Linked DNA regions of Homo sapiens: all the other regions are linked to region 2. Evidence: promoter capture Hi-C in 16 types of primary human blood cells and fetal thymus (Javierre and others, 2016). All regions are on one chromosome and are shown on one strand. The core of a region is centred on a gene start or on the middle of the fragment in contact, and the rest is flanking DNA. Distances in the headings are between cores, read along the strand shown. Region 1 holds the start of ZFP82 (ZFP82 zinc finger protein). Region 2 holds the start of ZNF227 (zinc finger protein 227). Region 3 overlaps ZNF260 (zinc finger protein 260). Region 4 overlaps ZNF382 (zinc finger protein 382). Region 5 overlaps ZNF577 (zinc finger protein 577). Region 6 holds the start of ZNF649 (zinc finger protein 649). Region 7 overlaps ZNF566 (zinc finger protein 566).

Region 1 (3,949 bases), core at 1,425-3,924, 7.8 Mb before region 2:
AACAACAGTTTATCTTTTTTTCTCCACTAAGAAACTAGTTTTATATTATGTATAATCCTTGCAAAATGTTTTATAAATCTCTAGCTTATTAAGAGCGATTCATACATGATTAAAGGTTTTGTGAGTCATCTTGTTCAAAACTATTGCTTAGACAACATCGATCACAAGCTTTTTTTCCTTCTCATAATTAACAGTATTTATTAATGGCAAAAAGCTGCATCACATGGAGTGTGGCTTATTTAATCATTTCCTACTATTAGACACTAATTTTGTGTCTAACATTGAAAAACATTCTCAAAGGTTACAGACTTTGATTCTAGGCCAGTAGATCTGAATCTTAATGGATCATGTTTGATAATCTCATTAAATTACATATTTTCTCCCCATAAAAGTGGCATATTAACAGATATCTATAACAATTTTACGTACAATTTCAAAGAGTATCTGGTCCCCTGAAAGCCTCAAATGAATTCAAATTACTTCTGGTTAAGAATTCCTGTTCTATGGCCGGGCACGGTGGCTCATGCCTGTAATCCCAGCACTTTGGGAGGCCAAGGCGGGCAGATCACCTGAGGTCGGGAGTTCAAGACCAGCCTGACCAACATGGAGAAACCCCGTCTCTACTAAAAATACAAGATTAGGCAGGCGTGGTGGTATATGCCTGTAATCCCAGCTACTAGGGTGGCTGAGGCAGGAGAATCGCTTGAACCTGGGAGGCGGAGGTTGCGGTGAGCTGGGATCACACCATTGCACTCCAGCCTGGGAAATAAGAGCGAAACTCCGTCTCAAAAAAAAAAAAAAAAAAAAGAATTCCTGTTCTAGGCTGGGGGCGGTGGCTCATGCCTGTCATTCCAGCACTTTGGGAGGCCGAGGCAGGCAGATCACTTGAGGCCAGGAGTTTGAGACCAGCCTGGCCAACATGGTAAAACCCGGTCTGTACTAAAAATACAAAAATTAGCTGGGTGTGGTGGTGCAGGCCTGTAATCCCAGCTACTTGGGAGGCTGAGGTATAAGAATCGCTTGAACCACGGAAAGGGAGGTTGCAGTGAGCTGAGATTGTGCCACTGCACTCCAACCTGGGTGACAGAGCAAGACCCTGTCTCAAAAAAAAAAAAAAAAAAAAAAAAAAAGAATTCCTGTTTTAGACTATTTAAGCATCTGATCTGGCTCATTTATTTTTTACTAGGAAATACTCACCACAATTGGCTTAGTATTTTCATTTTCCCCCCATCTATAGAAGGCTGATGTAGAATTGCTCCAAATCACTACTTAAGAATACATAACTAAGGTTTATTAAGTACTAACGAGGTCTCAGGAACTGTTCTAAGAACTTTACACATAGTAATTAAAAGAAGGCCCACAGAAGTAATGAAAAACATCTACCAAATGGGTATGTGCATACAGGCTCTCGGGAGGGGACCTAGGTATCAGCTCAATGGACAGGACATTTATGGAGAATGAAACAAATATTCTCATGTCCTAAGAAATAAGAATGCATTTCACAGAAGAAAGCAGAAACACCCACTCGCCTCGACCTTGACTTAAACAGGCAACAGCAATTCATTCCTCCTCCCGCTCGGACCCCTTTTCTTAAAGAATTGGGCAGGACTGGCTAATAAGGGAACCAGGCTTTTCTTGCAGCCCAGCCTCGCATAGGGCACAATGCCCCCACCGCCCACCCACACATAACCAGAGTAACATAAGAGAGATGGTGTTGTTAACTCTTCCCAGTATCAAAGAAAGGCCAGGGTCATGGATGCCCGGGGCTAGAACTGGAGTTCACAATAGCTTCCTGGAAGCAATGCTGTGGTTCTGAAACCTGCAGCTGGACTCTTCAGAGTTGTGAGTGCACGTGCGTGGGTCCGGGTCCGCGAGGAGGTGGTGTGGGAGTCCCTTCCAGGAGCAAGCCTGGGCGGGAGCGGGGGCTCGTTCAGTTCTAATATTCCTATCCCAAGGTCGGGTCTGAGCCTTGTTTCGCTGTTGCCCAGGCTGGAGAGTAGTGGTGCTATCATAGCTCGCTGCAGCCTCAATCTCCTCCTAGGCTCAAGCCATCCTCCCGCCTCAGCCTCTCGAGTGGCTGGGACCACAGGAGCACGCCATCACACCCGGCTCATTTTTTAAATTTCTGGTACAGATGGGAGTTTCGCTTTGCTGCCCAGGCTGGTCTCGAACTCCTGGCTTCCAGCGATCCTCCCGCCTCGCTCTCCCAGAGCTCTGGGATTACAGATGTGAGCCACCTGGTCCGGCCTAGTCTGCGCGTTTCTGCTGGGAGTCTTTGGCGTGCAGAAACTGACCGAGGGCCATTTCTCTGCAGCTGGGCCCGGTGTGGGCAGAGGATGCTGGGGTCAGTCACGCACTCCACGGCCACAACAACCTTCGCTCATACAATAGTCTCTGCACCCAAGTCAGCCGCACAGACTCCGTCACGTCCCAGCCCCGGCCCCGTCACGCCCACGACACACACACCCGGGCCTGAGGCGCGGGCTCCCGCCCCTCTGCGATACTGCAGTGGCCCCGCTTACCTCTCTTTACCCCCTGGGCCGCAGCGCTTTTCCTACAGATTACCAGGACCGACGCTCCGGGCCAGGACTGCTCACTCGGGGCGCGAACCCGAGGCACAGCGATGCCCGAACGGAGGAAGCCGCTGCCGGGTCACGCCACAATCCCCGGGGCCTAACGGGCTGCGCGCGGAGGCTGCTGGGAGGGCCGGGCGCGCTCACGGAGTGCGCAGGCGCGGCCAGTCTCAAGGGTCCGCTCGCTGGTGCAGCCCCTGCTCTGCGTGAACCCGGAGCCGGAGCTAGGTCCGTCCCAGCGAGGCTGCGCTTCGAGTCCCTTAGCGCCTGGGGACGGCGCGGCAGGGCCTGGAGGGGAGCGGGGACAGATGGCTGGCGCGTTAAAGAGGGGCGCCCGCGACCGCCTCTCTATAGTGCCAACTAGGGAGCCCTGTGAGCGAGGACGGCGCTGCGAGTCTGTCCCTGGCGCGCTCCTGGGTGGGATTCTTTCACTGGGTGTGGCTGTTGGGATTTGAGACCGTGTGACTCCGGAGATTCGGGGAAGCCAGTTCCTATATTTTCCATTTCTGTATTTTTAAATGGTAAAAACAATGAAAAGGAGAACAATATTTTGTGAAATATGAAAATCATACATGTCAAATTTCAGTGTCCATAAATAAAAGTTTTATTGGAACATAGCCGTGTTTGATTGTGTACTGTCTATTGCTATATTTGAGCTACAAGGACAGACTCGAGTAGTTACACAGACCAGATGGCCCACGCAGCCTAAAATACAGTCAGTTCTCACTATTCACAGTAGTTATGGTCTATAAACTTGCTACAAACACGGAATTAGTGAATACCATTCCACTGCTTCTAGGGGAAATACAGGGTTAGTTTCCTGTAAGCATCTGGTCACATTTTAGTCAACCGATGAATGCATAAGCTTATTTTATTGTGTTTATTTTCTTTTTTTCTTTTTTTTTTTTTTTTTTGAGATAGGGTCTTGCTCTGTCACCCAGGCTGGAGTGCAGTGGTGGGATCTTGGCTCACTGCAACCTCCTCCGCCTCCCGGGTTCCAGCAATTCTCCTGCCTCAGCCCCCAGAGTAGCTGGGAATACAGATGCATGTCACCATGCCCAGCTGATTTTTGTATTTTGTAGAAACGGAGTTTCACCATGTTGACCAGGCTGGTCTCAAACTCCTGACCTCAGGTGATCCACCCGCCTTGGCCTCCCAAAAGTGCTGGGATTATAGGCATGAGCCACCGCGCCTGGCCTTATTGTGTTTCTATTTAAACACTTTAATATATATTATTGATTCATTAACATTGAACTCATGGCCAACAGCTCCATAACTCATGCCTGAATGAAGCTTATCTAACACATGTATTTTTTCTGTAAGACACATGACCGCTTTCTCATTCATAGGAACATCAACAGCACTTTAGTACTACT
Region 2 (4,086 bases), core at 847-3,346:
AGAAATGGAAGCACTAGTATTTTAATCTAGATAGCTTTATACTAAGGCTGTAATATTAGCTACTACACACTACTTTTATTAGTCTACAAGGCAAGAACCCACAGTAAGTCTTATTAGAGCAGGGAATATTTAAGCTATGGATGAAGACCGTCACCCAGGAGGGAAAAGAGTAGCAGGTTATGACAGAAGGAACACCAAATACAAAGAATTAGAGGCTTTTTGTAGGAGTACAAGTAATCCACTATGGCTGGACATGTAGAGTGGAAAGTGGATTCCAAGAGAGAAACAGCATCTGGAAAATTCCTGTTTGTGCGACTTGTTAAAGCATTTGAACCTTCTCTTAAGGGCACTGGATAGACATGCAGGTGAAAATAATCAAATTTCCATCTTAGGAGATATACTTAACCTCTCTCTGCCTCTGGATCCCAAAGAGTAAACTAGAGGACATTATTTGTTTTAAAAAAGTTGTGAAAATGGGCTAAGTGTGGTGGCTCATGCCTGTAATCCTAGCACTTTGGGAGGCCGGGGCGGGTGGATCACCTGAGGTCAGGAATTCAAGACTAGCCTGGCCAAGATGGCAAAACCCCGTCTCTACTAAAAATACAAAAATTAGCTGGGCGTGGTGGGGAGGGGGGTGCCTATAACCCCAGCGACTTGGGAGGCTGAGGCAGGAGACTTGCTTGAACCTTGTGTGAGGGCGGAGGTTGCAATGAGCCGAGGTCATGCCACTTCACTCCAGCCTGGGCAAAAGAGCCAAACTCTGTCTAACAACAACAACAACAACAACAACAACAAAACAGAACAAAAAAAAAAAGAAAAAAGTTGTGAAAATGTAGTGAGGGTCCCATAGTCTGAATAGTTTGAACTAGTTCCTGGCACATACTTGGTTCTTTATAAGAGATAGTTGTATATAACAGAATAAAGAATATATATTTAGTAAATGAGAACTGCAAACATGTACTGTAGTAGATATGTGGATATTTTTAGGTATTGCTCTCTTCTTTCAACCCTCAATTCTTGGAAACATCAATTCCATTATACATTTAAGCAAATAAAGATCAAGGTTTAAACACTGAAGTAATAAATTTGTTCATCTTTCAAATTCAGAAACTCCTTGAGGAATGATTACAGAGGCCCTAGTTGCTTTGTGGAGTTGATCTACCATATGCCAAAGCTTGTGTTTTCTATGTCTAGCTATCCTCAGTAAGCAAGTTGTTCTGAATTATATGACTGTGCTATTAAGAAAAGTGGAAATCCATAATATATTCTGCCTTCGTTGCATTTTTTGATTGCTCTTTCATTCTTTTAGTATCTAAAGAGTAGTTTTTCTATTAGTCGATCCTGTTAAATGTAAAAACTTAAAGGGTTTCCTCTGCCCTTTTTTTTTTTTTTTTTGGAAGTGGTGGGTATAATTCTATTAGTACAGGATCACGTGATCTGTTTCTTATAATAGTTTTTTTTTTCTTTTTTTTTTTTTTGAGACAGAGTCTCACTCTGTCGCCCAGGCTGGAGTGCAGTGGCACGATCTTGGCTCACTGCACCCTCCAGGGTTCAAGCGATTCTTATGCCTCAGCCTCCCAAGTAGCTGGGACTACAGGCGCGCGCCACCACGCCCGGCTAATTTTTATATTTTTAGTAGAGACGGGGCTTCATCATATTGGCCAAGCTGGTCTGGAACTCCTGACCTCGTGATCCGCCCGCCTCGGCCTCCCAAAGTGCTGGGAGTCTTTTTTTATTTTAGGGCTCCAATTCTTCACATATTTGCTGTTACTTTTTGTTAATAAGAAAAACCTAAATTCCACTGACATCAGAGAACTGCTTCAGCCTGGCTAAACAGCAATAAGCCGTGAAGAGGATTCTGGATGTTGTAGTCCGGGAGCTCCGAGAATTTTGTCACACTCTCCGTAACCCTCTCTCACTCGCTCGCTCCGTTTTTTTTTTTGTTTTTTTTTTTTTCAAGCGCGAAGAGGGCGGCACCTGGATGGTTTTTCCTTCTGGAAGTTCTGGGAAACGTATTCCAGAACTCTGTCCGGAAACAATTGGGCCGCAGGAGCGCGGGCCTTCTGGGAAGGGTAGTTCAGGAGCTCTGGGCAGGCAGAGCCACTTCCGCCCCGGAAAGCGAGGCCGCCACCATCTTTTGGGTCCGGGAGGTGAGTCAGCCCTGCACCCCCACGACCCCTCTTGAACCTTTTCAGCCTGTGCTTGGGAATAGGCGCTCCCCAGCCATCAGTCTTGGGATGGAGAGGTCGCGGCCGCGGCGGAGGCCGAGAGGCCGAGGGCGGGAAGTTTGCTCTCCTCCCGCACTTGGCAAGCAGCGCCGCTAGTTCTGTGGGTATAATAAACAGCGAGTTACCTATGATCCGCGCTCCTGTTTCCTCATCTTTAAAATAGCAATAAAGATAGTCGTTACTGTGTAGGGTTGTAATTAGAATTAAACAAGATAATACGGGTCAAACCTTAGAACAGTGGTGGCACCTGATACTGGGTTGGCTCCTGCTATTGATACAGTGATTCCCTCACAAGCGCCCTTTTTACTGGAAGCTCCAGTGAAGAGAGAAGAAAAGTCAGGGCTTTATGCCATGGCCTTTCTGTCGTATCCTTCAGGAGACCGAGCTCTTCCCGAACTTTTACAGATCTTTTTTTTTTTTAAGAAGGATTGAGTCATCGGGCTCCAATGCGTGGGGATGTTTACCGCCGTTTATCCGGGATAGAGACTCCATCGTGCTGACAGCATCCTTTTATTCACCGCCTCCGAATTTGCAAAGAGGAGGAAGGAGGGACTTCTTGGCTTCTCCCAGCATAGCCCCAGGTACCTGCTCTTGAACGCACTTTGTTGTTCCATTTTCTGTCCTTTCAGTTAATCAAGTTTCCGTCACTCAGTAAGTTACTACTGAAAAATGATGAAATATTTGTTGAATAAATGTGAGAGTGGGTAGGAAAACTACTTGGAAATGAGTATTACCAATAACATCTTACCACTTTGATTTTAAGGCATTCGTCTGTGGACCATAGCTATTGATGAAGTAGGTCTTGTTATTTTGTTATGAGGAAATTAGGCAGAGTTTATGTTATTAAATACTTTCCCGAAGTTATTCAACTGATAGTAAGAGGTGGATTTGGGATTGAACCCAAGCATTCCTTTTCAGACTGTGTGATCTTTTTTGTTTGTTTTTGTTTCTTTGGTTTTTGTTGTTGTTTATTTTCTATTCCTTTTTCTGAGTCTGTGGTCTTAATCTCAATGATACAGTCGTCTTCAGTTATCTTAAATAGTAATCCATATGGCTACCGGTGAGTCGTTGGAAATCAGCCTTGGGAATGTAGGTATGGATTTTACTGTGGAAGACCTCAAAAACTGCACTGATGAATTTTGAATTTTTTAGAAAAATCCTGCAACATCTCACTTACTTAATTTCATTCCATGTCAAAATATGTCATATTCTAGTTATAGAAGTAATGAATGCTCATTATAGAGATGCACTATCCAATCCAGTAGCTATAAGCCATGTGTGCCCTAGGAGCACTTGAAATGTGTCTAGTCCAAATTGAGATGTGCTGTAAGTGTTAAATACACACTGGATTTCAAAAACTTTGTACAAAAAATGTAAGATGGCTCATTGATAATTTTTTGTATTATATGTCAAAATGGTAATATTTTGGATACATTGGCTTAAATTATGTTGTTGAAATTAACTTCACCTATTTTTGTTTTTGTTTTTTTGCCTTTTTTATATGTTACTGCTAGAAAATTTAAAATTATTTATGTGTCTCAGTATATTTCTATTGGACAGTGATGTTATATTCAGAAAACTTAAATTACTTATAATAAAACTGCTAACACTTTAATGTGTTTCCCTTTAGTATATGCTATGGATGTTTCTCAAAATAGGTTTGGTATTCTGTGTAGTAGTTTTTTTCTTATTATGAAAATTTTCTTTTTTCTTTTTTTTTCTTTTTTTTTGTGAGATGGAGATTCACTCTTGTTGCCCAGGCTGGAGTGCAGTGGCGTGATCTCAGCTCACTGCAACCTCCACCTCCCAGGTTCAAGTGATTCTCCTGCATCAAGCTCCCGAGTAACTGGGTTACAGG
Region 3 (3,577 bases), core at 89-2,588, 7.7 Mb before region 2:
ATGCTAACATTTGGAATCATCTAACGAAACACATCTATATTACTGATTGATGCACAGTGAAAACCACCATTTCATAAGCCCCGCTTACATACACAAATTAATATAGAGCTAAAGATCAGAAAACATTTGATGAAAGTCCTAACATCAAAGGCAGATCAAACAAAATACAAGGCAAAGAGCAGAAAAACTCACCCATATAATACTACAATTAATATCATGGAAAGTTAGGAGATTACTATTATCACTGCAATGAAATATTAACAGTGTTCTATAAAGAGGTGTTTTTAGAAATAAACAATATGAAATTGATCTTAAAAATTCAGTATGTTGGGGAAAGAAAGTCTAGAAAATCTCCTAGAATAAAAAAAGGAAGAATGGAGGAAGGCAGAAAGAAAGAGTGTAATGGTTGGAACATTTAGTGGGTTAGTGGAAGAATCTGGAAGGATCAGCATCTACTAAAGAAGTTCCAAAGAAAGTATGAAGAAAAATGAATACAGGACATTTTCAAAGAGCTAATAAAGAACACTTCCCAGAATTACAAATCATGAGTCCACATACTTAGCAGGCCCATTGAGTACAAAGAACATTCCATTTAAAAAGATAGCGGCGAAAGCACATCAATACAAAATTTCACCTAGGGATAAAAAGAGGATCCTAGTTTGAGACCGGCCTGTGCAACACAGTGTGATCTTGTCTCTACTAAAAATAAAAAAGATTATCTGGGTGTGGTGGCATATACATGTACTCCCTTCTACTTGGGGAGGCTGAGATGGTACGATGGCTTGAGCCCAGGAGAGTGAGCTATGATTACCCTACTGAACTCCGGCTTGGGCAAGAGTGAGACCTTGTCTTAACAAAAAAAAAAAATCCTAAATGTTCCAAAACATTTATCCTATAAAAGGAAATAAAAGAAAAAGACATACCACATCAAAAAGGCATCAGATTGCAAGACAATGGATAATCCTAACCATAAGTTACTTCCAACTTAGACTTCTAGGTTTTACAGTTCTGTCTGAAAGCTTGGGAAGAATCAAAACACAAAAATGGAAAACTAAGCAAACAAAACAAAGAAGCAAATATTAATTAAAAGAAAAGCAAAAGGTTATACAAGAAATCAAACAGAGTCATAGAAAATCATTTGGTTTACCAGTCAACAATGCTTACAGTGTTATAGTTACGTAAATGCTTACAAATGCTTTAATAAAAAAGCAGTGATCTTACTAGTATCAGAAGTCAGAAGGGGAAGTATGGGTATAACATACTGGGGGTAACATTTCAGAACCCCGTTAGTAACTGAGAAAACAACCACTCTCAACCTCTGAATTCAAATCCATAAAATACAATATAAATAAAAAGAAAAATGTATACACATTTATAACATATTTTATTAATCAGTTTATCCTATATCTTGAAAATAGATTATAAACCACCTTTTTAAATGCCCAAAGAACATTCTGAAAATCAGCCCATACAGTAGCCTGTTCCACAAAGTAGTAAAGGATGGACAAAATACTCTGACCAAAAAAACAAAAAACCCAACACATAGAAATGACAGAACAAAAACAAAACCTTTCACTTGTAAATTTCAAAATCTATTGGTTTGAACAAACCCTTTGGCCAGGGAAAATTAATGCTTGGAGAATGAAGTTTTAGCATAAAAGCTTACATCATTTTAAAAAAAGTAATAAAATAAGCACTCAAAGTAATTAACATAAGAAAAAGTAAATATAAGAAAAACAGACCGGGTGTGGTGACTCACGCCTGTAATCCCAGCACTTTGGGAGGCCGAGGTGGGCAGATCACTTGAGGTTAGGAGTTCGAGACCAGCCTGGCCAACATGGAGAAACCCCATCTCTACTAAAAATACAAAATTAGCCGGGTGTGGTGGTGTGCGCCTGTAATCCCAGCTACTCGGGAGGCTGAGGCAGGAGAAATGCTTGAACCCAGGAGGAGGAAGTTGCAGTGAACCAATATTGTGCCACTGCACTCCAGCCTGGGCAACAGAGTGAGACTCTGTCTCAAAAAAAAAAAAAAAAGAAAGAAAGAAAAAGGAAAGAAAAACAGAAAATTAGTAAAAATAGGAAAAAGAAATTAATGTATTACAAACAGAAAAAGAGAAATAATAAATTCATGAGTGGATTCTTAAGGAAAAACTTAAAAGAAGTAAGAGTAAAAAAGAAAAAGATATTTGGAAATAACTATAGATAGAAAATATGGATAGTACAGACTATTTTGTTAAACCCCATGCAAATAGAAAACTTAGCAAGTATAACCGATGCGAACTGAAACCAGAAAAGACAGAAAACCTAAACAGAAACATAAACATAGTACAAAATAGGGCTGGGTGTGGTGGCTCACGCCTGTAATCCCAGAACTTTAGAAGGCTAAGGCAGGTGGATCATTTGAGCCCAGCAGTTCAAGACCAGCACTTTGGGAGGCCAAGGCAGGCAGATCACAAGGTCAGGAGATCGAGACCACTCTGGCTAACATGGTGAAACCCCGTCTGTACTAAAAAGACAAAAACAAAAAAAATTAGCTAGGCGTGGTGGCGGGCGCCTGTAGTCCCAGCTACTCTGGAGGCTGAGGCAGAAGAATTACTTGAACCTGGGAGGCAGAGGTTGCAGTGAGCTGAGATCGCCCCACTGCACCCCAGCCTGGGTGACAGAGCGAGATTCCGTCTCAAAAAAAAAAAAAAAAAAAAAGGACCAGCCTGGCCAACACCGTGAGACCCTGTCTCTACAAACAATTTAAAAATTAGGTGGGCGTAGTGGCAGGTGCCTGTAGTCCCAGCTGCTCAGAAGGTTGAGGTAGGAGGATTACTTGAGTCAGGAGTTCAAGGCTGCAGTGAGCTGTGATCATGCCACTGCACTCCAGCCTGGGAGACAGAGTAAGACCTTGTCTCAAAAAAAAAAAAAAGAAAGAAAGAAGGAAAAAATAGAGCTCTTGCCCCTTAAAGCCCAAGGCATGGATGGCTTAGCATGTGAATTTTACTAAACTTTGATTAGATAATGGTATTATTTATTTTGTTTTCCACTTACTTTTAAAAAATTCATGAAAATTGGTATGATGCATAACAGATCAGGACTTATGCTACTATATTCCAAACAATCCAAAAGAAAATTAAAAATTACATCTCCTTTGTAATTAAAACCCTACATCCTTCACACACTTATCAGAATTGAATTTTTAACACTGTAAATGACAATGCTGAACTGAACTAGAAAACATAATCAGAACAACAAGTAAAATGGTTCTTTCAACATTTATCCCATGGTTTAAAAAATATTCTCAGGACCAGGTGCAGTGGCACACGCCTGTAATCCCAGCACTTGGGGAGGATGAGGCAGGCAGATCACCTGAGGTCAGGAGTTCGAGACCAGTCTGGCCAACATGGTGAAACTCTGTCTCTACTAAAAATACAAAAATTAGCCAGGCATGGTGGTGGGCATCTGTAAATTCCAGCTACTCAGGAGGCTGAGGCAAAAGAATCGCTTGAACCCGGGAGGCAGACATTGTAGTGAGCCAAGATTGTGCCACTGCACTCCAGCCTGAGTGACACAGCAAGACTCTGTCTAAA
Region 4 (3,949 bases), core at 763-3,262, 7.6 Mb before region 2:
GAGCAGGGTCAGGGTTTTATTCATTTTGGTCTACCAGGCAACCAGTCACATTCAGGACAAATAGTGTGATCTCAGTATGTTTAGCATGAGATTATAAGTAAATACAAATGGATGTATTTTCAGAGAGAATTTTATGCAATATAAAACATAAATAAGGAAACTAGTCTGACCAGTAAACATTGTCAGTACTAGGTCTCCAATATCTAGTTCTCACACATTTCCGATCACTTCAGGATGAACTAGAGTATGCCCTTACAGGGATCAGTGTCATTCAAGGATGTGACTGTGGACTTCACCCAGGAGGAGTGGCAGCAACTAGACCCTGCTCAGAAGGCGCTTTACAGGGATGTGATGTTGGAAAACTATTGCCACTTCGTATCTGTGGGTAAGAAACACTCCTGAATCTTTCACTGTCATGCATCTCCTTCTAAGAATTCCTGAAACATATAGGACTTTGAATTTCAGGGATTAGAGGTGATTATTTTTTTGGCAGAAAATATTATATTGCCAGGCACAGTGGCTCACGCCTGTAATCCCAGCACTTTGGGAGGCCGAGGCAGGTGGATCACTTGAGGCCAGGAGTTCAAGACCAGCCTGGCCAACATGGTGAAACCCAGTCTCTACTAAAAAGTACAAAAATTAGCTGGGTGTGGTGGCACATGCCTGTAATCCCAGCTACTCTGGAGGCTGAAGCACGAGAACCACTTGAACCTGGGAGACGAGGTTGCAGTGAGTTGAGATTGCACCACTGCACTCCAGCCTGAGTGAAAGAGTGAGACTGTCTCAAAAAAAAAAAAGAAAAGAAAAGGAAAGAAAGAAAAGAAAATATGATTATATCATCACTTGTGTAGTGTAAGGTATTAACTTTGGTAAGACATTAATGTATACCTCATTTACTACCTTGAAGTTGTATCTTTATCTTACTTCAATAGTTTTAAAGTCGAAACAGCTTAGACCAAAAGTCTCATTTTCCATCATCAGGGTTTCACATGGCTAAGCCTGATATGATCCGCAAGTTGGAACAAGGAGAAGAGCTATGGACACAGAGAATTTTTCCAAGTTACAGCTACCTAGGTGAGTCTATAAATGAAGTCTAGTGAACATTAAATGTCAAGTAGTTGAAGCCTTTGAATGTTTTTAGGGATCTATTTTTGTTATTGTGGTAAAATACACATAACATTAAATATGCTATCTTAAACTTTTTAAGCATATAGTTCAGTAGCATCAAGTACATTCGCACTGTTGTGCAACCATCACCACCATCCATCTCCAGAACTATTCATCTTGCAAAACTGAAGCTCTGTACCCATGAAACAATAACTTCCCCTGGCCAGGTGAGGTGGCTCACGCCTGTAATCCCAGCACTTTGGGATTACAGCCAAGGCCAAGGTGGGTGGATCATGAGGTCAGGAGATGGAGACCATTTCTGGCTAACACAGTGAAACCCTGTCTCTACTAAAAATACAAAAAAATTAGCCAGGCATGGTGGTGGACACCTGGAATCCCAGCTACTCAGGAGGCTGAAGCAGGAGAATTGCTTGAACCTGGGAGGCGGAGGTTGCAGTGAGCCAAGATCACACCACTGCACTCCAGCCTAGGCGACAGAGCGAGACTCCATCTCAAAAAAAAAATAAATAAAAATAACTTCCCTTTATCCCTACTCCCTAGCCATGCCAACCACCATTCTACTTGCTGTCTCTGTAAATTTGACTACTCTAGGTACCTCTTGTAAGTGCAATCACATAGTATTTATCCTTTTTCTGACTGGCTTATTTTACTTAATGTAATGTCCTCCAGGTTCATCTATTTCCTTCATTTTTAATGCTGATTAATATTCTGTTGTATGTATATACTATATTTTGCTTATTCATTCATCCGTCAGTGGTCCGTTGGGTTCCTTCCATCTTTTGGCTATTGTGAATATTGCTGCTATGAACATGGGTGTACAAATATCAGTTTTAGTCCCTGCTTTCAGTTCTTTTGGGTATAATCTCAGAAGTGGAATTGCTGAATAATGTGGTAATTCTGTGTTTATATTTAAGGAGTCACCATACTGTTTTCTATAGCAGCTGCATCATTTTACATTCCCACCAACAGTGTACAAGGGTTCCAATTTCTTCACCAGCACTTGTTATTTTCTGTATTTTCGTAGTATCCATCCTATTAGTGATCTATTTTTAAAGACCTGAGATCTGTAAAGTGCCTATACATGGCTGACTTTCATGCCTCTAAAATGTAAATTTTAGGTATGAATATCACTCCCCATGTAAATCTTTTCGTTGTTTGCCTGGGTTTGTGGAAATATTGCTGCTATTACCTTACCAAGAATCTATTCCATGTTTTATAGGTATAATGTACATAGAGATGTAAAGTGTAAAGTTCTTTGAATTCTGACAGAAGGATAAACCCACGTATCTCACACTCCAATCAAGATAAAAGACAGTTTCATTAACCCATTAAGTTCCACCAGGCCTCTTCCAACTCAGTCCCTCCCATTAAGATAATCACAGTTGTGATGTCTACCAACATAGATTCATTTTGTCTATTGCAAACCTTTTTCATGTCTGCTTTCTTTCACTCAGCTTCATGTCTGAGAGATTTATACATGTTTCTGCATGCATAAGTAGTTTGTTAACTGTGGAACAGTTTTCCATTGTACGAGTATACCAGTTTATGCATCTCTTGTTGAAAGACATTTGGGATGTTTCTAGTTTAGACCTATTATGAACAAAGCTGCTATAATCATTCTTGTAAAAATATTTTTGTGGACATACATGTTTATTTTTCTTCAGTAAACACGTAGCAGCGATATCGCTGATTCATAAGGCAGATGCGTATTTCATTTCTTTAGAAACTACCATTTTGGTTTGGTAGTTTAGTAGCTAAAACTACTATACCATTTTAGACTTTCATCAGCACTGTATGAGAATGTTGATTGCCCCACGTTCTTTTCTACATTTTATGTTCATTTTGTCCATTCTGGTCATTTTGACCATTCTGGTTGTATAACTTCGCAGTTTTAATTTAGATTTATCTTACAACTAATAATGTTGAAAACTTTTTCAAGTGCATTTTATATCAGAGGCATCTGTTCAAGTGTTTTGTTTGTTTCTTTGTTCGTTTGTTTGTTTGATAATTTTTGAGACAGAGTCTCACTCTGTCGCCCAGGCTGGAGTGCAGTAGCACAATCTTGGCTCACTGCAACCTATGCCTCCCGGGTTCAAGCAATTCTCCTGCCTCAGCCTCCCGAGTAGCTGGGATTACAGGCGTGCGCCACCACACCCAGCTAATTTTTTGTATTTTTAGTAGAGACGGGGTTTCATCATTTTGGCCAGGCTGGTCTCAAACTCCTGACCTTGTCATCCGCCCACCTTGGCCTCCCAAAGTGCTGGGATTACAGGCGTGAGCCACTGCACCTGGCCCTGTTCAAATGTTTTATCCATCTTTTATTTAGGTAGTATGTATTTTTCCTTGAGTAGTAGGAATTCTTTACATACTGTGGATAGAAATCTTTTGTTCAATGTATGTATTACAAATATTTTCCCTAGTCTATGACTTGCATATTCATTTTAATGGTGTCTTTTGATGAACAGAAGTTTTTAACTTTGGTGAATTTCACTTAATCATTGTTTCTTTTATCATTAATTATGTGACCTCTCAAACAAATATTTGTCTTTTTCTAGGTATAGTGAGGATAATTCTCTTTTCTAGGTATGGTGAGGATAGTGCTCTGTAATTTCTTTGTATATTTTGCTTTTTTTTTTTTTTTTTTGAGACAGAGTTCCGCTCTTGTTGCCCAGGCTGGAGCGCAATGGTGTGATCTCAACTCACCGCAACCTCCGCTTCCCTGCAACCTCCACCTCCCAGGTTCAAGCGATTCTCCTGCCTCAGCCTCCCGAGTAGCTGGGATTATAGGCGTGCACCACCACGCCCCGCTAATTCTGTATTT
Region 5 (4,032 bases), core at 154-2,653, 7.7 Mb after region 2:
CGAGGCTTCACCATCTTTGCCAGGCTGGTCTTGAACTCCTGACCTTGTGATCCACCTGCCTCAGCCTCCCAAAGTGCTGGGATTACAGGTGTGAGCTACTGTGCCTGGCCAAATTTTTTTTTTTTATAGAGACAAGGTCTCGCTATGTTGGCCAGGTTGGTCTTGAACTCTTGGCCTCAAGCAATCCTCCCACCTCAGCCTCCCAAAGTGCTAGGATTACAGGCATGAGCGACTGCTCCCAGCCTCATGGTATAGTTTAACTTGTTGTTCTCTACCTACCCAACTCCCAGTTTTTCCTTTTAATTAAGTGAGTAGTTCAACTTAGAGGTTTGATTAGTCCCATGTTCAATTTTTTTAGGTAAGAATCCTTCATGGATGGTGCTGTGTACTTCCTACTGCAACATATGAAGAGGCATGAGGGCAAAAAAAACAAAGAAAAAAAAAGGGGGAGCTGTTATAGAATTAAAGAGATCTAAGAGATACAACAAGCAAATCGAATGCACCCACATCATTTGGATCATGATTCAAACAATCCAATGTTAAAAGACAATGATGAGATGATCAGAAAAAAACTGAATGTGGACTAACTATTCAATGAACTAAAGAAATAGGCTGGGCACAGTGGCTCACACCTGTAACCCCAGTACTTTGGGAGGCCGACATGGGCAGATCACTTGAGGTCAAGAGTTCAAGACCAGCCTGGCCAACAGGAAGAAACCCCATCTCTACAAAAAAATACAAAAATTAGCCTGGTGTGGTGGCAGATGCCTGTAAGCCCAGCTACTCGGGAGGCTGAGGCAGGAGAACTGCTTCAACCTGGGAAGTGGGAATTGCAGTGAGCCAAGATAACGCCACTGCAGTCCGGCCTCGGTGACAGAGTGAGAGTCCACTCACCCAAAAAGATAAGGAAAGAAATTATTATTAACTTGGATACACTGAAAATGGTCTAGGATGGGTGAAGTGGCTCACACCCGTAATCCTAGCACTTTGGGAAGCCGAGGCAGAAGGACTGCTTGAGCCCAGGAGTTCAAGACCAGCCTGGGCAACATAGCAAGATCCTGTCTGTAAAAGAAAAAACAAAAAGGAAATGGTCTAGTGGTTATAAATTTTTTTAATGACCTTACTGGTTAGAGATTCATACTGGGATACGTACAAGTTTCAAGGCATGAAGCCTTGGATTTGCTATGAAAGTCTCCAGACTAAAACAAAAGTGGAGGCACAGATAAATATGACTGATATGACAGATGAATATGAATTGATAACCATTGAAGCTAAGTTATGGGTAAATATTATACTCAATTTCCATGAAAAAAAGTTAGAGTCATCAGAGCCTGATGAGTTCTATCTAATCTTTACAGTACAGAGATGACTCCAATATTATGTAACATTCATCAATCACAGAAAAAGTGAAGCCTCTCTAACAATTATATAAAACCAGCATTTCCAAACACAAATCAATAGAATAAAAAAAAAAAGAATTATAGAGATAGGTGCTTTTCCATTGATTTTCATCCTTCCTTCTTTTCTAATACTTGCATTCAAGGTTATAAATTTCCTCCACTGACTGCTTAGGTTAAATTCAACAAGGGTTTACATGTAGAATTCTTATTAAAATGCAATTGAAAATATTTCCACTGTGATTTTTTGAACTCAGATTATTTAGAAGCGTATGGCATAATTAACAATCATTCTGACAAGAAAACAGCATGTTCTGAATTGATAGTTCCAAAAAGTCACATGACTATTCTATGGTGAATAAATCATTTTGATATTGATTTATAGCTTAATTCCACTATAGTTAGAGAAAATATTCTATATGGTTTTAATCATTTGAAATGTATTTAGACTTGCCTGATGGCCAACCATACGGTGACTTTTTATAAATGTCCTATGTGCATCTGAGGAAAATTATTGAGTGCAGTGTTTTATATTGGTCAAGTTTGTTAATTAGGTATGTCATTCTAACCTTTCAGGGGTTGGGACTATTGTGGGTTAGCTGAATGTTTTTGTAAATAATGTTTTATCAGAACACAGCCACACCCATTTGTTTACACATTCTGTACAGCTACTTTCATTCTATAATTGCAGAACCTAGTAGATGCAGACAAGACCATTTAGCCGGCAGAGACTAAAATATTTGTCATCTGTCTGCACCTTTACAGAAAGTTTGCCAGCAATGGTTAATCTATACCCTTTTAGCTTTTTGTCTGCCTGTTCTCTCAGTTACTGAGAGAAGTATGTTAAGAATTTCCCATTATGATTGGGCATTTGCGGTTTCTCCTTGTGTCTAGCATACTCCATTCCTCTATACTTAACACACTAAGTATATGCTCTATTGACTTTTTTTTGAGATGGAGTTTCATTCTTGTTGCCTAGGCTGGAGTGCAATGGCATGATCCCAGCTCACTGCAACTTCTGTCTCCTGGGTTCAAGTGATTCTCCTGTCTCATCCTCCTGAGTAGCTGGGATTACAGACACCCGCTACCACGCCCTGCTAATTTTTGTATTTAGTAGGGATGGGGTTTCATCATGTTGGCCAGATGTCTCGAACTCCTGATCTCAGGTGATCTATCCGCCTCAGCCTCCCAAAGTGCTGGGATTACAGGCGTGAGCTCTCATGCCCAGCCCTCAATAGAACTTTTATGCACCAAAAGACATGTAGAAAAACGTTCATATCAACAATACTCATAACTCCCATAAGCCATAACAATGTCTCTTGATAGTGGAATGGATAATATGGGGTATAATCATCAATGGAATACTACACAGTAATGAAAAAGAAACGAGCTACTGCTATATGCAGCAACTTAGATGATTTTCACAACAAAAATATTAAGCAAAAGAAGCCAGCCACAAAAGAATGTGTACCTTAGGATTTCATTTATATAAAGATGACAACCAAGCACATCTATGATGTTTTTAAGATAATAATTACCTTTGGAGAGGAGAGAGAAGATGAGGGCTTCTGGGATGCTACATTATTCTATTTTTTTAACCTGGTGATTTTCAAGTATAATCACTTGAAAAAAACTTAAGAGACCAATTTCTCTTATAAATGTATAGGCAAAAAAATTTTTTAACTTTCTACTATGAAAAATTTCAAGCAAAAGAACAGTATACTCAAATTCCACATATTCATCATGTGACTTCAAGAATGACGAACTCACATCTAATTTTGTTTTATCTATACCACCATTCAGTCCCTCTCCAGCAATGGATTATGGATTATTCCGAAGCTAATCCAAGATATCTTTTCATTTTTTGATGCAAAAATATTAAATAAAATTTTAGCAAATAAAATCCAGTCTCATATTAAAAGAACAAACCATTATTGACAAGTATGGTTTATTCCCTCAGGAATACATGAAATTGGGAAATAGAGCAACACAAATCAAAGAAAATTTTAAAGAGAAAAAAATAAATGAAAATAATTGTAATGGTCAAAAGCCCTTAGGAAAGAGAAATAAAAACTTGATAAATCACAGTAATTATTTATTCAGACCATACTACGTACCTAGTACTACACTTTGAACATACTTAAAGAACATTTGCTCACTTAATCTTCATAATGATTCCATGAAAAAGAAACTATGACAGCTTTTTTCCACAAATAAGGAAACTGACTCAGAGATTAACGTACCCAAGTCAGAGGCAGAGGCAGGTACTTCTTACTCCACAGTCCATACACTTGCCACCTGGCTAAAATTATTTGCAGATGACAAAAATGCTCAACTAGAAAAAAGACGTCAATTTATAAGTTATATGTAATGACATGAGTACAATGAAGTGACAGAATAAACATATATATTTTTAACTTCTGTTCTTGTCAACTAAGTAAAATTAGGAACAAAAAAGGAAAGGGGGAGGGGTCTTATGCAAAAAAAAAGTCACGATTTACAACAAAAAGTATTAACTATGTAGAAATAAGCATAACCAGAAATGTCCAAGATACGTATGGAAAAACACTACAGATAGTCAAACAAATAAAAATATTGGGTTAATAGAAATCCATCACATGTTCCTGAAAGTGTT
Region 6 (3,541 bases), core at 39-2,538, 7.7 Mb after region 2:
CAGTCGCTAGAACCCAGGAGGCGGAGGTTGCAGTGAGCTGAGATCGCACCACTGCACTCCAGACTGGACAACAGAGCTAGATTCCGTCTGGGGGATAGGAGGAAACTTTGATCCCCAAATGCTCAAGGAGACTGATGCTTAAGCAAACTAAATATTGCCTGAGAACGACTCCATACTTCTATATTTGAGTCCTTGTGGATAAACTGCAACCTAGCTTAACAGACAAAATTGAAAACCGAACTTAATCGTATGCACCTGTAACAATAGCTGAGTGGTGGCCAGTCCCAGCGGCCATACTCATAGACTGCTGAATGTTCCAACTGCGTTCAAATAAGGCAAACGCCGAATGGTAACCAATCTCACTGTTTCTGGACCTCGCTTCCGATTCCTGTATGTCACTTTACCTTTTTTGTCTATAAATTTGTTCTGACCACGAGGCACCCCTGGAGTCTCTGTTAATCTGCTGTGATTCTGGGGGCTGCCCAATTCGCGAATCGTTCATTGCTCAAGGAAACTCCTGTAAATTTAATTCGGCTTCAATTTTTCTTTTATCACTGATTTGAGTAATAATAAAACTCCGGTCTCCCCGCACAGCCGGCTCTGCATGAATTGCTCTTTCTCCATTGCAATTTCCCTGTCTTAACAAGTCGGCTCTGTCTAGGCAGCCGGCAAGGGTGGGCGGTTATAGTTTCACAACTCAACCCCAGCCAGGGGCCTGGGCTTGTAAAATACCAGATTTTACAAGCCTCTGAGCCCCACATGCCTGGGCCTCCCCGAAACACTTAACACACATCCCCGATTCACCCCAAAACCTACACCACACACCCTCGTACGCTGCCCAGCACCCCGGCTTCATCACCGACTTTAAACTGCAGCATTTGGAGTGATAATAATGGCGTCGGTGATAAAGCCGGCGTGCTGGGCAGCGTCCCCCTAGAGTTCTCCATCCAGTGATCCAGAGGCCTACTAACAGAGTGACCCTCAGAGACCCCAAACTCTGACGCCGAGTCTCAGTCGCTGAACTCGACAGACCTTTAACGCCCGACCACAAGAACTCTCCCACGCCGGACCGCAAAGGCACCCCAACCCAAAGGCTCCACCGCCCAGGCCGCCAGCTCTCCCCACAGGCTCCTCAGAAGCTCCCTACCCCTTTAACCTACTCCACGGAGAGACCCAAACACTCACCTGATTTTCTTCTGGCTACACCTAAATTCCCTGAATGCTTCCTTTCCTGGCCCTTAAACCCCGGCACTGGCCTATGGCGGCGGACGAGGGCGCGAGTCAATTCTGCCGCGCTAGGACGATGGGACATGGGCTTCTCTTCGAGGAGGTAACATGTCCGCGCCCTGAGCCACGGCTCTCTGGGCGCGGCCATCTTGGTAGATCTGCCGTACAGAAGGGAAACAGTTGTTCTTGTGTCATTAAACCGGGATGACTCTCCTGAAAGCAAAAATTTGAGGCGCAGGAGCATTTTCTAGAGTTTATCTGAACAAACAGCAATTCATGAATTAGGAAGCATCAAACCAAAAGAAGTCTCGCGCTTCTATGCTTAAAGCATTAGACACAAGTATTCACAGGGTGAGTGAAGGAGTAAAACAAAGAAATTATTTGATTAGTTACAATTATAAAAATGCATTTTTTTAAATTTGCCTTGGAAAGTCCCTAATGACATAATAGCATGTGAGTTGCCTACTTTTGATCGGTTGAGATTGAGTTTTGTCCTTCCCTAACACAAGCATTTACCAGAAATGACTCAAGTGAATTGTTGCTTATGTTTGCAGGTTAAGCAAGGTTAAGGCTGTTTTTAAGGCCTACTGGGTTTTGTTTGCTCAGGAGTTTTTGAATTCTGGTCTGCATTTTAATTTTGCTTTGACACAGGAGACAGTGAAATGGCACTGATGTGTTCCCTCTCCTGACACCTCAACCCCTGCACTGTGAGGTTGGAGCACTAACAACAGTGCACTGTGGGGAAAAGAAAGAGAGATCAGACTGTTACTGTGTCTATGTAGAAAGAAGTAGACATAAGAGACTCCATTTTGTTCCGTACTAAGAAAAATTCTTCTGCCTTGAGATGCTGTTAATCTGTAACCCTACCCCCAACCCTGTTCTCACAGAGACGTGTGCTGTGTTGACTCAAGGTTTAATGGATTTAGGGCTATGCAGGATGTGCTTTGTTAAACAAATGCTTGAAGGCAGTATGCTTGTTAAAAGTCATCACCACTCTCTAATCTCAAGTACCCAGGGACACAATACACTGCGGAAGGCCACAGGGACCTCTGCCCCAGAAAGCCAGGTATTATCCAAGGTTTCTCCCCATGTGATAGTCTGAAATATGGCCTCGTGGGAAGGGAAAGACCTGACCATCCCTCAGCCCGACACCCGTAAAGGGTCTGTGCTGAGGAGGATTAGTATAAGAGGAAGGAAGGCCTCTTGCAGTTGAGACAAGAGGAAGGCATCTGTCTCCTGCTCGTCCCTGGGCAATGGAATGTCTCGGTATAAAACCCGATTGTATGTTCCATCTACTGAGATAGGAGAAAATCGCCTTAGGGCTGGAGGTGAGACAAGCTGGCGGCAATACTGCTCTTTAATGCACCGAGACGTTTATGTATGTGCATATCAAAGCACAGCACCTTCTTCTTAAGCTTGTTTATGACACAGAGACATTTGTTCACATGTTTTCCTGCTGACACTCTCCCCACTATTATCCTATTGTCCTGCCACATCCCCCTCTCCGAGATGGTAGAGATAATGATCAATAAATACTGAGGGACTCAGAGACCGGTGCCGGCGCGGGTCCTCTGTATGCTGAGCACCGGTCCCCTGGACCCACTTTTCTTTCTCTATACTTTGTCTCTGTATCTCTTCTTTTCTCAGTCTCTCGTCCCACCTGACGAGAAACACCCACAGATGTGGAGAGGCAGGCCACCCCTTCACTGCACAAACCACACAGATATTCAGAGGCTCAAATGCAACCAAGGCTGTTGCGGGAAGTCAGGGACCCCAAACGGAGGGACCGGCTGAAGCCATGGCAGAAAAACATGGATTGTGAAGATTTTATGGACATTTATTAGTTCCCCAAATTAATACTTTTGTAATTTCTTATGCCTGTCTTTACTGCAATCTGTAAACATAAATCGTAAAGATTTCATGGACACTTATCACTTCCCCAATCAATATCCTTGTGATTTCCTATGCCTGTCTTTGCTTTAATCTCTTAATCCTGTCAGCCGAGAAGGATGTATATCGTCTCAGGACCCTGTAATAATTGTGTTAACTACACAAATTGTACAGCATGTGTGTTTGAGCAATATGAAATGTGGGCACCCTGAAAAAAGAACAGGATAACAGCAATTGTTCAGGGAATAAGAGAGAGAACCTTTAACTCTGACCGCCGGTGAGCCGGGCGGAACAGAGCCATATTTGTCTTCTTTCAAAAGCAAATGGGAGAAATATCACTGAATTCCTTTTCTCAGCATGGAACGTCCCTGAGAAACAGAATGCGCACCTAGGGGTAGGTCTCTGAACTGGCCTCCCCCGGGCG
Region 7 (3,920 bases), core at 1,059-3,558, 7.7 Mb before region 2:
TCGGGGCCAGGCGTGGTGGCTTATGCCTGTAATCCCAGCACTTTGGGAGGCCAAGGCCCACCAAGGCAGGCGGAACACCTGAGGTCAGGAGTTCGAGACCAGCCTGGCCAACATGTTGAAATGCTGTCTCTACTAAAAATACAAAAAAAATTAGCCGGGCATGGTGGCAGACGCCTGTAATCCCAGCTACTCAGGAGGCTGAGGCAGGAAAATCGCTTGAACCCAGGAGACAGAGGTTGCAGTAAGCTGAGATCACACCACTGAACTCCGGCCTGGGCAACAAGAGTGAGACTTCGTTTCAAAAAAAAGCACTAGTCATAAAAGACAAAGTACTAAATAAATATCTGCTACAAAAATGGGGAAAGACATAAACAGGCAATCTTTTAAAAGACTCTGAAATGTTCAAACACACTCATAATGAGAGAAATAAGAAAACAACAATGAGGGCTGGGCACAGGGGCTCATACCTGTAATCTCAGCACTTTGGGAGGCCGAGTCTGGTGGATCACCTGAGGTCAGGAATTTGGGACCAGCCTGGCCAACATGGTGGAACCCCATCTCTACCAAAAATACAAAAATTAGCTGGGCGTGGCGGCACGCGCCTGTAGTCCCAGCTACTCAGGAGGCTGAGGCAGGAGAATCACTTGAACCCAGGAGGCGGAGGTTGCAGTGAGCCGAGATCGCGCCACTGCACTCCAGCCCCGGCAACAGAGCAAGACACTGTCTCGGGAAAAAAAAAAAAAAAAAAAAAAGAAAAGAACACTGAGGTACTATTTCTCATCTATTAGACTGGTGAAAACTAAAAAACATGACAACATATTCTGTTAGGTGGGCTGTGAAGGGAAACAGACATGCTCATACACAGCAAGTAGGAATAAAAACTGGTACAACAGTTCTAGAGAGGAATTTTGCAATACTTAACAAAACTACAAAGCACTTACCTTTTGACCCAGCAATACCGCTTCTAGGAATCTACCCTAAAGATACTCCTCCAGCAATAGAAAAATACATATATACAAGGTTATTGCAGCACTGTTTCTAGTAACAAAATATTGTAAATGACCTAAATATCCATACGTAGGAAAGCGGTTCAATAAACTATGATAAATCCACAGGCTGCAGTATTATGTAACAATTAGAAAAGAATTATGAATATCTCTTTAACTGCCTGAGTGTTATCCAGAATGTATCATTAAGAGAAAGAAACAATGTACAAAAGAGTGCCTAGAGAATGCTATCTTTAATGTAAAAAGAATATAGGTAACTCTTCATTTGTGCAAAAGAAACACAGCAAGGATAAAGCAGAAACGAATGAAGTTGAATATATACAAGGAGTCTGTGGGAACTAAGTTAATTTTTATTTATTTATTTATTTATTTTGAGACGGAGTCTCGCTCTGTCGCCCAGGCTGGAGTGCAGTGGCGCGATCTCGGCTCACTGCAAGCTCCGCCTCCCAGGTTCACGCCATTCTCCTGCCTCAGCCTCTCCAGTAGCTGGGACTACAGGCGCCCGCCACCACGCCCGGCTAATTTTTTGTATTTTTAGTAGAGACGGGGTTTCACCGTGTTAGCCAGGATGGTCTTGATCTCCTGACCTCGTGATTCGCCGGCCTCGGCCTCCCAAAGTGTTGGGATTACAGGAGTGAGCCACTGTCCCCTGCGAATGTTTTCACATTCAAAATAGTGTAGCCTGCTACAATCAACCAGGATGTGGGGGAACCCAAAATGCAACAAATGATCCTTAAATGTAAGAAAAATGTAAGAAAAAAAAAAAACATACTGAAAAGAGTGGCAAAGAAAAGAACTAAATTGAGTAACTTTGGAAGATGTTTGTTTACTATATACTATAAGCTTAAAGAAAAAGAGCTACACAGAGATTCTCTACTGTAGTTACTAAATACTTTTTACACAGGTCCAGGTTGGCAACTCTGAACTAATTTGCATGTATTCTAGGATAGAGCTAATTATTGATTCTGAGAAGCAGGTTTCTCTCTGTTGGAAAATGAAGTAACAAGGAAATGGCCAAATTTGATGGGAGACAATTCTCCATGGGTCTTGCATGTTTCTGCGTATCTTGCAAGAAGAGGTACTAAGTGTTTTTGTTCTGCACTATTTTACCAAGTTGTTTATACAGTGAACAGCCTTGGAAGACAGAGTCGGTCTCCTTCTACAGCAAAGGGTAGGCATTCTAACTATCCATTATAAAAAATTCAGGTTTCCTAAGGTCAAGGGAACACACAGATACCTGTGTATTTTGCATAATCCTGGGTGTATGACTGAATCAGTACCATGAGAATGTAGATATTCTGAAGATTGCCATGAGCAACAAAGCATCCTTTGTCTCAGACTCAGAAGTCTCATGTTTTCTGAACGTATCTGTGAAACTGACAAGCCAACTTACTAGCTTACAACTAGGGTAAAATCTCAGATAGTTCATAGTTCTTGGGAAAAGAAAATACCCTGTGGTACTGGAATAGAATTAAACATATGAGTGTAAACTGGTGTGTTTTTAACATATAAACAAATAAATAGACATAAATGTGCATGTAGACATTTGTGTATTTTCTCACTCTCTCCACTGACCAGAACCAGAGCAAAGACACACCAGTAGCAATAAGCACACCAAGTGCCCAGATCTTGGTTTATAAATTCATTCTCCAATAAAAGAAATTAATGCTGCTTGGAGAAATTGCTGAGCCCAGAGATGGAAGAGGGAAAATACAAGATGAACCTGGAACATCTTATGTCCCAGAAAGCGGGGTTGGGGGGAAGCTTTAAAAAATGATCACACGTTGAAAAGACACAAGAGCCAACTTAAGGAGCTTCTGATGGCCAAATATGGGAAAATTTGAACAGCAAAATAAATAAATAATAATAATAGAGAATAGAATAAAATAAATATCCATGAGTCCATAGGTAAATAATTGAATAAACAAATGGGGACAAAAGAAAAACTTCAGCTGAATTAAATGTAAAGGAGTTTCATTGAACAATGAACGATTCGCAAATCAGGCAGCCCCCAGAATCACGGCAGATTCAGAGACACTCCAGGGATGCCTCGTGGTCAGAACAAATTTATAGACAAAAAAAAGGGAAGTGACATACAAAAATCAGAAGTGAGGTGGAGAAACAGCTCAACTGGTTACAAGTTCTTGTTTGCCTTTTTTTTTTGAGACGGAGTTTTGCTCTTGTTGCCTAAGCTAGAGTGCAATGGCACGATCTCAGCTCACTGCAATTCTCCTGTGTCAGCCTCCTGAGTAGCTGGGATTACAGGTGCACTCCACCACACCTGGCTAATTTTTTGTATTTTTAGTAGAAATGGGGTTTCACCATGTTGGTCAGGCTGGTCTCCAACTCCTGACCTCAGGTGATCCGCCTGCCTCGGCTTCCCAATGTGCTGAGATTACAGGCGCCAGCCTCTGTGCCCAGACAGTGTTTGCCTTACTTAACACAGTTTGAACACTCAGCAGTGTATGAGTGGTTGAAGTATTGCTGCTGGGATTAGCCAAGACTCAGCTTGTTACAGGCACATACACTGTTACAGGCACACAAGTTAGGTTTCCAATTCTGTCTACCTGTTAGGTTACAGTTCGTCCATAAGGACTCAAATATAGAAGTACAAAGTCCTTCTCAGGCCACATTTAGTTCACTTTTAACAGGAGCAAGAAGAGACAGCTCTTCCTTATAGTAGAATTTAAATTATCAAAGTGTAAGAAATGATAGAAGGAGAAAATCACCGCTAGGCAAACATCACAGTAATAATTGTTACAGGTAAAAATTATCAATGAATGTTAAAACTAATGCGTGAGAAAACATGATGAGAAATAGGATTTTGGCATAGTTTCTTTTTTTTTTTTTTTTTTTTGAGATGGAGTCTCGCTCTGTCACCCAGGCTGGGGTGCAGTGGCGCGATCTCAGCTC

The links. The method cuts DNA at HindIII sites, captures the fragments that hold promoters and counts their contacts. A CHiCAGO score of 5 or more calls a contact.
Region 1: a contact is called between the fragment with the promoter of ZFP82 here and the fragment with the promoter of ZNF227 in region 2, in 7 of 17 cell types (non-activated CD4 T cells, total CD4 T cells, activated CD4 T cells and 4 more). The highest score is 21.3, in non-activated CD4 T cells.
Region 3: a fragment that was not itself captured here is called in contact with the fragment with the promoter of ZNF227 in region 2 in 2 of 17 cell types (non-activated CD4 T cells and total B cells); the score reaches 9.6 in non-activated CD4 T cells.
Region 4: a contact is called between a fragment that was not itself captured here and the fragment with the promoter of ZNF227 in region 2, in 1 of 17 cell types (non-activated CD4 T cells). The highest score is 6.6, in non-activated CD4 T cells.
Region 5: a fragment that was not itself captured here is called in contact with the fragment with the promoter of ZNF227 in region 2 in 1 of 17 cell types (total CD4 T cells); the score reaches 7.0 in total CD4 T cells.
Region 6: the fragment with the promoter of ZNF649 here is called in contact with the fragment with the promoter of ZNF227 in region 2 in 7 of 17 cell types (total CD8 T cells, naive CD4 T cells, total CD4 T cells and 4 more); the score reaches 17.8 in total CD8 T cells.
Region 7: a fragment that was not itself captured here is called in contact with the fragment with the promoter of ZNF227 in region 2 in 2 of 17 cell types (naive CD8 T cells and naive CD4 T cells); the score reaches 12.9 in naive CD8 T cells.

The regions. Positions count from the first base shown.
Region 1 is chr19:36,415,970-36,419,918 of GRCh38, forward strand. ZFP82 (ZFP82 zinc finger protein) reads right to left here and starts at 2,675. Exons shown (of 5, transcript NM_133466.4): 1 at 2,523-2,675. RefSeq lists an enhancer at 2,044-2,203. The HindIII fragment of the contact is 3,270 bases long and covers 167-3,436 here.
Region 2 is chr19:44,210,436-44,214,521 of GRCh38, forward strand. It overlaps ZNF227 (zinc finger protein 227), which reads left to right and starts at 2,097. Exons shown (of 6, transcript NM_182490.3): 1 at 2,097-2,150; 2 at 2,655-2,809. The HindIII fragment of the contact is 5,683 bases long and covers 1,173-4,086 here.
Region 3 is chr19:36,518,179-36,521,755 of GRCh38, forward strand. The region is part of intron 2 of ZNF260 (zinc finger protein 260); the gene reads right to left. Among named protein-coding and RNA genes, the nearest start is that of ZNF260, 8.3 kb to the right of the region's middle. The HindIII fragment of the contact is 642 bases long and covers 1,018-1,659 here.
Region 4 is chr19:36,609,669-36,613,617 of GRCh38, forward strand. ZNF382 (zinc finger protein 382) reads left to right here. Exons shown (of 5, transcript NM_032825.5): 3 at 234-385; 4 at 982-1,074. The coding sequence starts at 247. Among named protein-coding and RNA genes, the nearest start is that of ZNF382, 6.3 kb to the left of the region's middle. The HindIII fragment of the contact is 5,848 bases long and covers 1-3,949 here.
Region 5 is chr19:51,883,181-51,887,212 of GRCh38, forward strand. ZNF577 (zinc finger protein 577) reads right to left here. Exons shown (of 6, transcript NM_001370449.1): 1 at 3,641-4,032. Among named protein-coding and RNA genes, the nearest start is that of ZNF577, 2.8 kb to the right of the region's middle. The HindIII fragment of the contact is 7,920 bases long and covers 1-4,032 here.
Region 6 is chr19:51,903,729-51,907,269 of GRCh38, forward strand. ZNF649 (zinc finger protein 649) reads right to left here and starts at 1,289. Exons shown (of 5, transcript NM_023074.4): 1 at 1,186-1,289. RefSeq lists enhancers at 1,058-1,602, 1,321-1,440, 1,931-2,555, 3,439-3,541. The HindIII fragment of the contact is 3,228 bases long and covers 1-2,640 here.
Region 7 is chr19:36,480,744-36,484,663 of GRCh38, forward strand. All of the region lies in intron 1 of ZNF566 (zinc finger protein 566), which reads right to left. Among named protein-coding and RNA genes, the nearest start is that of ZNF566, 6.9 kb to the right of the region's middle. The HindIII fragment of the contact is 921 bases long and covers 1,849-2,769 here.